Linked DNA regions of Homo sapiens: region 1 is linked to region 2. Evidence: promoter capture Hi-C in human tissues and cell types (Jung and others, 2019). All regions are on one chromosome and are shown on one strand. The core of a region is centred on a gene start or on the middle of the fragment in contact, and the rest is flanking DNA. Distances in the headings are between cores, read along the strand shown. Region 1 has its middle 20 kb from the start of MFSD6L. Region 2 holds the start of MYH10 (myosin heavy chain 10).

Region 1 (2,700 bases), core at 147-2,646, 150 kb before region 2:
ATTTTTATATTTTCTAATTGGTCATTGACAGTGCAAACAAACCCTATCAGTTTCTGTATGCTGGGCATCATCTCCAGCCATCTTGCTGAACTCTGTTTTTAGTTCTGACTCTCTATCTCTTAATTCTGTTGTGCTTACTATGTAAATAAACATTTCATCTGCAAATAATCAATTTTGCCTTTACCCTGCTAGCACTTGACCCTCTTGTTGTTATTGGTGGTGGCAGTGGTGGTGGTTTTCATGGTCTTGGTGTGTTAGCAAGGAATTCCAATGCCATGTTGAATAGTAGTGGTAGAGTAACCATTTTTGTGTTCTCAACCTTAAAAAGAATCTGTCTAAAGTCTTTGTCTGTTTGTTTGTGTATTTGATTTTTAGAGACAGGGTCTCACTCTGTTGCCTAGGCAGGAGTGCAATGACATGATCATAGCTCATGGCGTCTTGAACTCCCAAGCTCAAGTGATCCTCCCACCCGAGTCTTCCAAGTAGCTGGAACTATAGGTGCCACCATGACCAGCTAATGTTTTTATTGTTTAATTTTTGTAGAAATTCCTGGCATCAAGCAATCCTCCTGCCTCAGCCTCCCAAAGTGCTCGGATTAAAAGCACCATGCCAGGCTACATCTAAAGCTTCAGTATGATGTTTGCTGAAGGCTTTATTAAATTAAAGAAGTTCCTTTTTATTCCTGGTTTTTCATAACACTCATCATAAACTTTATTAAGCATTTACTGGATCTATTAAGATCATGTGGTTTTCTTCCTTCTCTAGTTTATTCCTGTGGTGATTGTATATTAATATACTTTCTGATTTTTTTTTTTTTTTTGAGACAGAGTTTTGCTCTTGTTGCCCAGGCTGGAGTACAATGGCACGATCTCGGCTCACTGCAACCTCTGCCTCCCAGGTTCAAGCAATTCTCCTGCCTCAGCCTCTCAAGTAGCTGGGATTACAGGCGCGCACCACCATGCCCGGCTAATTTTTTGCATTTTTAGTAGAAATGAGGATTCACCATGTTAGCCAGGCTGGTCTCAAACTCCTGACCCCAGGTGATCCACCCGCCTCAGCCTCCCAAAGTGCTGGGATTACAGGCGTGAGCCACCATGCCTGGCCTACTTTCTGATTTTTAAGTAAACATGAATTATTAGCTAACTCTAACTTGATCCTCATAAATTAGGATTTAAAAAATACACCGTTGGATTGGGGTAGCCAATATTTTATTTAAAATTTTTTGCATTAATATTCACTCTGTTTTCTTTTCTTTCACTTTCCTTAACCTGTTTTCTCATTATGATTATACTAGCCTCATAAAATAAATCAAGCAGCTTTCCCTCCTTTTTCTATTTTCTATTTTATGGAACAACTTGTATAACATAAGGCTTCTCTGTTCAACATATGGTAAAACTTGGTGCCTGGAGTTCAGTAGAGCCACTTTTCTTGTATTCAAGAAAACTTTATATACAAATGTTTATGTAATTTTCTATTTCTTCGTATGACATTTTACATTTTCTGGAAATTTATCCTTTTCTACCCAAGTTTTCAAATGTATTAGTGTATAGTTCTTGAGACTGTTGCTTGCCTACCTAATATCCATTTCCCCTCTTCTTTACCCACATTATGTCCCTGGCAGCAATTGTGTTCAAGTAAAATGTTCACCTTACCAGACTCTGCACCTTAAAATGTTCACCTTATCAGAAATTCTGCGAAGGATGTCTGGTAAAGATTTCTGCTTTCCAGATGTAGCCTCTACCTCCTCCTCTTCCCTTTCCTTAGAGGAGAAACAGCCATCTTGCAACCATGAGGTGAAAAGCATGAGCAAGAAAGTGCTATACTCAGTTGAACACAGTCCTTTTTGCTTAGTTACTCTTATCAGAGGTTTGTGTTTACTGTTCTCCCCCCAACCCCCCAGAAAAAAGGCTAGTTTTGGTTTAGCTAATTTCATCCATTGTCTTTGCTCTCTCTTTTTATTTCTTCCATGATCCTTATTAGTTCCTTCATTCTCATTTCTGTGGGTTCACTCCATTGCTCTTTTTTTTAACTTCTTGAGTTACACACTTACCTTTTTGTTCTGAGTATTTTTTATTTTCTAATAAGCATAGTCATAAATTTTAAATTCTTTTATGTACTGCTTTAGTATAAATGTTGACATTGTGATTCAGCACACACTTTGACATTATAATTTGGTTCTAAGTATTTCATAATTTCCCTTGTCATTTCCTCTTTAGCCCAAAGTTAATATTAATTCTTCCCAGAAATGTGATATTTTTAAGTGCCCGTTTTATAATGAATTCTAACTTTACTTCACTATAATTGGAGGATGTAATTTCCTCATAATTCATTTTTTGTAATTGATGGATATTTCCTTTGTTAAGTATAAAAGCATATGTTTGTGTGTGTATGTTTTAGTTCAAAATTATTAAATATATTATTCAAATATTCTATCTTGCTTATCTTTGGCCTTCTTGATTCATATTCTGAAAGAGCTGTGCTAAAATCTCTGCATATAATTGTTCATATATCTATTTCCCCAGTATACATTTTGAGGCTACATTGTTGGATGCATATGTGTTTATGATTGTTATTTCTTCTTGATTTATTATCCCTTGTTAGTATATAACATCTCTATTTGTCCTGTATGTTATTTTTGCCCTAAATTAATTTTTCTTCTGATGTTAAAATTGCTACCTTGGAGTTCTTTCTTTTTTTAAT
Region 2 (2,700 bases), core at 184-2,683:
ACTAGACGTTTCCTAGGCTTAGGCAAACACATCATTATCACATGTATTAAAATGCTCCCATAGCCTACATTAATAACTGATTAATAACTGCATCTTGCTGTGAATTTTTATGATCTTGACTTTCAGGTTTTGTATGAATAATTCATTTTGTTCATGTGATTTAGACTTTATTATATTTATATATAATTATGCAAGAGTTTTGTTGCAGTTGCCTAGATTCTGCAGACATTTCATTAAATTTTATTTACTTTGATTTTTCCAGTTTCCTTTCGTTATTTTGGGGCCACTGTTTTTCAGTCTCCAACGTTTTCATAAGCCCTAGGGGATATGACAGCGCTACAGGAATCCAGCCTTATATTCTTAAGAACCTCTCATAGCCCTTCACGTAGGGAGCTCTGATGAATGAATGAAGGAGCGACTGAACGAGTGAATGAATGAGGTGAATAAAGTTTCTTCCAAGTTTTCTCTCCAAGGTCGGTTCTCTTCTCATTCTTCTGGAATCTCAGCCTTGCCTGGAGGCTGGGCAGGAGAGCCTCTCACCCCGCTAACACCAAAACTGCGACCTTGGAGGACCGTGTCCTGCGCCTGGCGCTCGGCCGATCCCGGCAGAGTCCGCCTGGGGCCGGGGTCGGGACAGTGGCCGCAGCGTGGAGCGCAGCCGGGTCCCGGGCCAAACCCTGTGCGCATGGGCGGAGCAGCGCCCTCCCCCGCGTTCCTTCCCCCACTGCAGGTGAGTCGCAGCGCCGCGGCCCCAACCCCGCGCAGCCCCGGGGGTGACGTCAGGACTCTGGACCGCGCTCCGCCCCGCCCCTGCAGGCAACGCTGAGGGCCCGCGACTCCGCGGTGGAACCCCGTCCCGCTGCGGTACATGCCGGCTGCCGCAAGCACAGGGGGCGACCGGGCGCTCGAATGTGCTGCGGCTGCGGCGGCTGCCTGACGCTAGGACGAGGAGTCTGCAGTCAGAGCGCCAGCCTCCTGCCGCGGCCCACCTGCCCCGCGGCCCGCACAGCCAATGTCAGCGCAGCGCGCCGGCCGCCGCGGGGCCCGCACCCGCAGCCTCGCGGGATCGCCGGGCGTTCAGCCAGCCTCAGCTGTCCATCTACGCACGAGCCAGCCAATCCCGCGCCACTGCCCCGGCCGCACCTCCCGGAGCCTATGACGGGCGTAAGAGCCAGCCCATGAGATTGGGGCCTCTGTGGCCTGGGCTGGGAGCGGGAGCCAATGAGCGTCATTCCAGGTGGGTGGAGGGAGCCGGACTCGGGAAGGTAGCTTCGTTCGGGTTGCTAACGTCTTCCCTTGGAGATGGGCGCGCAAACCAACCAGTGGGTCTGGGGGCGGCGGTGATGGGCGTGGAGCTGGCCCAATGAGGGTAGGGGTGGGTGGGGCAGCCCCGAGCAGCAGTGCTAAAGGAGCCCGGCGGAGGCAGCGGTGGGTTTGGGACTGAGGCGCTGGATCTGTGGTCGCGGCTGGGGACGTGCGCCCGCGCCACCATCTTCGGCTGAAGGTGAGAGGTGCGGCTACCCGGGTCCGAGTGCACGGCCCAGGGCTGGGGGACAGTTTGTGGAGGGAGGAATGGCTCCTGGGCTGAGGGGTCCCGGGCGGCTCTGGAGGACAGGAACGGGGGACCGAAGCGGGAGCTGGGGAAGACAGAGGGGCTTCTGAGCTGTAGGGTTTGTGCTGCGGGGACCTTAGGTTAGTTTGAGCAGGGTCCTGGGCTGGGGGCACTGGGACCTCAGTGGGTGGAGATGGAGAGACTCCCGGAGGAGCGGGGAATGAAGTCCTTGTGAAACCCGCGGGGGTCAGGGCCTGGGTGTGCAGGAGGGCGACCCCTGGGGGGCTGGGGGATGGAGATCTGGGGGTGGGGACGTGAGGACCAGGTTCTCGGTGGGTGGGATCCCTGGGGGCGCGAGGTCGAGGGGCTAGTGTCCCGGCGGAGGTCTCGGCGTGCCCCGCGAGCCAGTGTCTGCCTCCCAGGAAGAGAGGGGATTCTAAGCGGGGCTGGAAAGCGCAGTCCCGGCGGTAGGGTGGGGGGGCGCTGGGCAGGAAGGGCCCCTGCGTGGGTTGCTGGGTGGGTTAGGCCTGGCGCGACCGGTCCCCCGCAGCACCAGAGGGGTTCACCATGGGCTTGGAAGGCGGGCGGCGCGCGCCCGACCCGTGGGTGGAGGGACAGGAGGGCATTGGCTCTGCGCGGCCGGGGAAGCGCGCGGCGGGTGAGGGGCTCCGGAGCCGGCCGCGGGCGTGGGGAGGGTCGGACTCCGCCGGCGCCGGGGAAGGAGCGCGGGAGGAGGGCGTCCTGCCGCGCCCTCCGTGGAGCGCCTAGGCCGGGGGTGGACGCCCTGCGAGGCCCAGGCGGTTTGAGGGGGCGAGGCGGGAAATGTGGCGGGGCGCGCTGCAGCAGGACGGCCGGGGGGAGGGTCAGCACTCGCCTCGGGATCCCTTTATTGTGTAAGCGAGCTGGGAATGGCTCGCCGCAGTCTCTTCATTGCCTTCTGCAGTTGGGGGTCACACCCTGATCCCATAAAATCGGACTGGAATTGGTTCGGAGGGAAGTTGAAGCCGCGGAGTCCTGGCATTTGTGGGGGCTTTGTGGGCCTGTGGTGGGCGGATGCGGCCCTGGGAAGCGGGAGGCCCCCAGCCAGGCCTGTTTGGAACTAGGGCCTTAGGAAGGAGGTTGGCGACTCGGCGGGTCAGACCGGGCTG

The links. Contacts are between HindIII fragments. The study calls those that stand out against the background at their distance.
Region 1: a contact is called between a fragment that was not itself captured here and the fragment with the promoter of MYH10 in region 2, in 1 of the 25 tissues and cell types used here (aorta).

What each region holds. Positions count from the first base shown.
Region 1 is chr17:8,777,832-8,780,531 of GRCh38, reverse strand. No RefSeq gene overlaps it. Among named protein-coding and RNA genes, the nearest start is that of MFSD6L, 20 kb to the left of the region's middle. The HindIII fragment of the contact is 3,441 bases long and covers 1-2,700 here.
Region 2 is chr17:8,629,458-8,632,157 of GRCh38, reverse strand. It overlaps MYH10 (myosin heavy chain 10), which reads left to right and starts at 1,433. Exons shown (of 43, transcript NM_001256012.3): 1 at 1,433-1,504. RefSeq lists enhancers at 1-27, 726-1,503, 1,504-2,281, 2,282-2,700 and a silencer at 562-1,241. The HindIII fragment of the contact is 16,199 bases long and covers 1-2,700 here.